Regions from separate parts of the Homo sapiens genome. Here region 1 is linked to region 2. The links are contacts of gene promoters, found by promoter capture Hi-C in blood cells and fetal thymus (Javierre and others, 2016). All regions are on one chromosome and are shown on one strand. Each heading gives the region's core, a stretch centred on a gene start or on the middle of the fragment in contact. The rest is flanking DNA. Distances are from core to core; before and after follow the strand shown. Region 1 has its middle 79 kb from the start of SPANXN3. Region 2 holds the start of SLITRK4 (SLIT and NTRK like family member 4).

Region 1 (2,980 bases), core at 169-2,668, 200 kb after region 2:
TGTAATCCCAGCACTTTTGGGAGGCCAGGGTGGGAGGATCATGAGGTCAGGAGTTCGAGTTTTAAAGAGTTCAGCTGTAGTTTTGTTACATGGATATATTACATAGTGGTGAAGTCTGGGCTTTTAGTGTAGCCATCAGCCTAATATTGCACATTGTATCCATTAAGTCATTTCTCATTTCTCACCCCCTCCCTCTCTCCCAGTCTTCTGAGTCTTCAATGTTTATTATTCTACTGTCTATGTTAATGCGTACACATCATTTAGCTCTCACTTATAAGAACTCGCTGTCTTCGACTTTCTGCTTCTGAGTTACTTCACTCAAGATAACAGCCTCCACTTCTATATGATAGATAAATATGTTAAATTGCTTAATCAAATCTTTCTACACTGTATACGTAGAACAAAACATCACATTGTGCCCTGTACATATATACAATTATTATTAGTCAATTAAAAATAAAAAGGAAGGAAGGACAGAAGGAAGGATGGAAGGAAGGAGAGAGAGAGAGAGAAGAAAAGAAAAAAGAAAAGAAAAGAAAAAGAAAGAAAGAAAGAAAAAGAAAGAAAGAAAGAAAGAAAGAAAGAGAAAGAGAAAGACTGAAAACTTTACATTGGGAAGTTCTTTAGTAAAGATTCAGAATCCTGATTTAAAAATTCAAAATAAATCTGAAAACATCTATGGCTTGTATTTCTTAAGAAGTCCTCAATACCTTAAACAATGCAGATGGGCACCCATAGGCTTTCTGCCAGTGGTGTGCTGGAATTTGTTCAGACTGGCCCAGGAGAACCGCTTGTTAAATTTTCAGAAATTTCTCTAGCTGGTTGTTATACCTTTGGTAGCTTGAAATCTACTATGGTGATAGTATGTATACCTCCAAAAATAAACACACAAATTTACAAAATACCCACTCTTCAACCTCTTCACTGATACGTCACTGCTTTCTGCATGCCCATCTGTAAGGAAGATTCTCCTGAGAGTCTTCCTCATTAGAAGATTGTTTTCATAAATTTATCAGAAAAACAATCTCATCTCATTATTTCAACTGGGAAGGAGAATGAGCCAGGTTAAGAAGAAATAGAAGAGAAGTCATTGCGTTACAACTTCTACACTGGAAGCTTCATAGTACACAGTTTGTTGGTGGATCCTAAAATTACTATTATTACTCATAATAACTGACTCTTTTTGAGTTCTTACTATGTGTCAGGTGCTGTCCGAAGCAGTATGCAGTATGCAGAATAACATGCTATCCTCACAACAGTCACATGAGAGAATGATCTCCATTTTATAGTTGAGAGTAAATGAGATTCAGAGAAGTTGGGGACTCATAAATGGTCACACAGTCAGGAAGAAGCAGAATTGAGATTTGAATGTGGGTCTCTGTCTCTAACAGGTTTGTGTTTTTCTGACCGTGCTAGGCATTTTTTATGCCAGTCATTGCCCAGTGCAATGTCCTGTACATTGTAGAATCTCAATAAATATTTGTAGAATCAAATCATAACTTATGTATATATTATTTAACCTCACACCTAATTTAGATACTGCGAGATTCTAGTAACAGTGTTTTGTCTTATTTCTATGTCCTCAACCCCTAGCAAAATCCTGCACACAAAATTCTGGTGCATTAAAAGCATTTGTTGGATGGAAATAAATGAGTCCACTTCCATAGCAGGTAGTCTGACTTAGGAGAAGACCAGGAGCTGATCTCTGGAATAAGCTTAGCCAGAGTGGAAGCTTTCTTGGCATTTCTGAAGTTTTGTTATTCTAAACATGGTTTTGAATAACAGTAATTGGGAGGGGACATAATGTTGAACGCATTTCCCTTGGTGCTAATAGACTATTCTTTCTATTTCACATCTTCTGTTAAAAAAAAAAAAGGGAAGAGAAAATGTAATTAATATTTATTGATGACCAGTCATTTTGTTAGGATATTTCAAATTTATATTTGCACGGAAAGCAATCCTAATAGGTAGATACTATGACTACTTGCCTTTTATGCATAAGGAAACTGAGATTCAACATAGTAAACACAGTTGGAATTGAAAGCAGATTTAGAAGCCAAAACCGAGATTCCTCAATTTGGACTCTGATAATAACGGTATCAACCGCCTTTACTATTTATAAAAATTCTCCCTAACTCCTGTTTTGAATTAACCAAGAATATAGTTTTCCCAGGTTTGGATGTTGTATCTCTGACAACTACAATACCCTTTAACTCAAGAGATTGAGTGAGGGGGTCTGTGCTACCTAATGAAAAAGTCTCCATCTAGTGGTTACAAATCAAATAGCGTTCATATGCCCCGAAGGTGCTTCTGGAATCCATATTGGGTACAGTGTGCACTACTTGGGCGACGGGTGAACCAAAATCTCAGAAATCATCACTAAAGAGCTTATCAATGTATCCAAAAACCACCTGTCCCCCCAAAACTATTGAAATAAATACCAAAAAACCCCACAGGTTTATATTGACTGGTGCAGGACCAAGACTAGTGTAGGGTGAGTGAGGGGCAATTGCCTTCGTTGCAAAATTCAAGGATAGCCAAAAAACTCAGTATAATGATAAACAATACTTTAATCCAATGTTTTTTAAAAATCAAAATTAATGCATTAGATACACAACGAATAAAACATCAAAATTTTAAATAAAGACAGGATCAGTATTACTGACTTTTCCTTTTCCCTCTGGCTTCATTATAGCTCTACACGCCACTAGACTAGTGTGAACGATGTAAAATGTTCATACACATTTCCTTGGCATGTAACCACAGCGAGGTCAAACCTCAGTGTCCTGGCTTAAATATCCACGTCATAATATCAGAAAACAGCAATCACATGCCTTGAACAAAATCTCCTTTTCATAAGATTTTAGACATTATTGAAAATGAAGATGGATGGAAACTAAAGGGTGCCTTACTTATTCAATGACTTAACTGTTCGCAGGCATAATGACTAACTTACTTGCACATGAAGGCACAACTTTAA
Region 2 (3,151 bases), core at 439-2,938:
TGAATTGTTAGCATTTAGAATAAATGCCAACTTGTTTTGATACCCATTACTACTTTCAAACTGCATTACACAATAAAATGCAAATGTGAGTTATTAATTAGCAGGATCTGTTTTGTCCAAGTGTGCAAGAGTAGAGGGATTTTTCAACATTCTGCAGCTGTTACCTATGAAGGAAACATCATTCACTTTGCTAAAAGGAGCTGCACAATTACATACGCTGTTATAGACAAATATTTTAGTGTTTCCTTAATGCTATTTCATAATGGATTTCACATTGAATAAGATAAATTTTACCAATGCTGCCCAATTTCTGTCTCTAGGTTGTTTGTAAAAGAGAGGATGATTACAGTTTTCAAGGCAATGTGGAGTGAAGGTAGAGAAAGAGTTCTTCATGAACGACACAATATTTAGCAAGGTCATAAAGAAATATGCCCATACACGCATATCTATTTAAGTATTCATTTACATATTGTACGTGCATCTCTGTATACATGTTGTGCCCGGTGAACATTTGTGTGAATATAACCTGACGGAAGTCCCATAAAATGACAAAAAATGAAAAACAATGAAACATGTATATGAATGACTACTATAGATGATACAGAAGGTAGACCATTATTCACAAATAATGTAATAAATCCTTTGCCCATCAGATGTTTCTACCTAGATTTGGGGCCTTTAAACATCAACCAATTATGGTAAATGTTTAACTGTAGGAGTTCAGGCAGACAGCCAAATTCTGGTTTCAAAGCTGTTGCTAGTTTTAGCTTAAAGATTTTTTTTTTCATTTTTAAGCAAGAACATTTCTGGATACCGGTTGTGCTCTATTGTGGCTAGAGCCGCTGGGATTTGAATAAGTAAATTGGGCAACACACTGGTCCTGAAGAAATGGGCCTGGCAGTATTACCTGAATGTGGCAAATAATAGGCTACCAAGAGTCCTAGGGAAATACTTCCCATTTATAACTTAGCTCTACTTACCTAAAGCTAGTTTATTCCCACAGACACGAAGAGAGAGAGAGTTGTTTTTCTTAGCCAAGCTCCTACAAAAAACAGCAAGGTTGGGGGATGGGAGCACATCCAATGTTTATGCCTTTTGTTTAGGAAAGCCAGGTATCTGAAATACATACATGATAGCCAACTCCTCTCTGCTCCCCTCCCCCAGGTTTATTTATTTTCTTAACAAGCTTATTAACGAAATTATCAATTTGCATGAAACTGGTTTGAACATTGGCCCTTCCTCAGAATATTTCTTATCTCTTGTGGAAGCACTAACAAAAAGGGTAGAAGAAGGGGCCTAGACAATCCACACGTTGGATTTGCAGCCACTGGATATTTCAGATTCAGCTGCTAAAGCCTCTTTGGTATACACAATGAGGGGCGACTGAAGTGACTTTTCTTAGTCCATTTCCTCTCCTTCTCCCCGTCTCCCGAAGGTACTCCGTGGGTCCCTTCCCTTTCTCTCTTCACAGTCCCTCCTGAGCAGTCCCAAAGCTTCAAACCTTGTTCTCCAACCCCCTTTCCCTAATGTCTCCCAACTACCACCCCCTTCCCCAGTCAAACTCCCCTCCCGGTCACCACCAAAGCCCGGAGAAGTGGAATGCACACAATGCCTCCCTTATAGGGCTTGAGCTGGGAACTGGGCATGCTCAGTAGCCAAAGTAGTTTTTTTTTTTTTTTTTCTTTTGGTCGCAAGTGCGGCATCTCTCCCAGTCCCACGCCTCTCTTTCCTCAACCCCTATCCCCTATCCCCTATCCCCACCCCCAGCTCCAAGATCATCCGGCTTAACCCATTCTGCACCAAAGGCCCACGGAGTTCTAAGGTGCGGATAATTAACCCGTCTCCTTCTAACCCGGCTAAATAGTCTCACTTTAGGCTAAAGCCTCACACTTTCGCCTTAAAGCCCCTGGCCCCTTACGCGCAGACAGGTAGGGGGAGTGCGAATACTACTGGATCCTAGGAAATTGGTTCCCAAGAAGGCTCCTTCCAGGATCGACCGCCACGGAGAAGTATTCCAGGAGCCCTCCGTTCTGCGGGGTGACAATTAGCCAAAGGTACCGTACCCGTGATACAAAATCCAAGTATGATTGTTGCATTTGAATGTCATTGTTGTTGACTCATTCCCCTCCATCCTGTAATTATTCAATTCCGCGTAGACTCGACGACCCTATCGATCTCCCTCGGCCCCCCTCCCCCAGGCTCTCCAGTGTTTCTTTGGCTTTTCCTGGCTTCTTGGTTGCTCTCTCAAAGGAATGCCCCGTGTGTGTGTGTGTGTGTGTGTGTGTGTGTGTGTGTGTGTGTGTGTGTTCCTTCGTTATTAGGGGACTGGAAGAGAAGAAAAGGGCTCGAGTGTGTGTGTATGTGGTGGGGGGGATGGAGGCGAGTGCGCCCTTGTTAGAGGACTGGGGTCTCCACGCCTGAGGAAAGGGGTCGCTCCTCCCTAGGGAATGTTTTAGGCAAAAAGAGGGGGCGGATGCCGGGAGGAAAGCGCGCTGTCTTTCTGGGTGTGTGGGTAGAAGAGGAATCAAATGGGCATGTCTGGATGGGGGACGGGGGTAGGAGCTCAGGAATGTGAGGGGGTCAAAGTGGTCGAGTGTCGGGAGGAAGGACTGCTTGTGTGCGGGGTGGGGGGGGGTGGTGGAGAGCGGGGGCGGGGATTCAGCGCGTGTATGTAAAGGTGCAGCCCGTGTGCTAGGCGCTGGGTGCGCGCGCGGTGTCTGCTCGGGTGCGCGCGCGCGCCGCTGCCCGCCTGCCCGCCGGCCCGCCTGCTCGCCTGCTGGGGCTGCTCCGTGGGTTTGACGGGCGAGCGGGCGCGGAGGAGCTCTGTCCGGAATCACATAGATACCATCGTGGAAACAGCAGCGCAGGTCACGGCGCCGCGGGCCCTGCACCAGACGCTGGGCTCTAGAGGTGGGTGAATTTTCAGCGGGGGCTGCACAAGCTGCACCGACACGCGTGCTGCCTCTTCCCCGCTCAGCTCAGTAGCGCGTGTGCGTGCGTGTGTGTGTGTGAGAGAGAGACAGAGAGAGAGAGAGAGATCTCGCGCGCGCGCACGCGAGCCGAGGGGGCAGGTAGCTTATTATTTTTAGTTTGGGTCCTGTTGGTTTGGGGCCGGTTGAGTGGCCAAAGTGGCCGAGGTGGCTAATCCTGC

The links. Contacts are between HindIII fragments. The CHiCAGO score rates a contact against its expected background, and 5 or more counts as called.
Region 1: a fragment that was not itself captured here is called in contact with the fragment with the promoter of SLITRK4 in region 2 in 3 of 17 cell types (M2 macrophages, M0 macrophages and M1 macrophages); the score reaches 17.0 in M2 macrophages.

Annotation. Positions count from the first base shown.
Region 1 is chrX:143,436,922-143,439,901 of GRCh38, reverse strand. No RefSeq gene overlaps it. Among named protein-coding and RNA genes, the nearest start is that of SPANXN3, 79 kb to the left of the region's middle. The HindIII fragment of the contact is 599 bases long and covers 1,119-1,717 here.
Region 2 is chrX:143,634,638-143,637,788 of GRCh38, reverse strand. It overlaps SLITRK4 (SLIT and NTRK like family member 4), which reads left to right and starts at 1,688. Exons shown (of 2, transcript NM_001184749.3): 1 at 1,688-2,054. The HindIII fragment of the contact is 4,708 bases long and covers 1,496-3,151 here.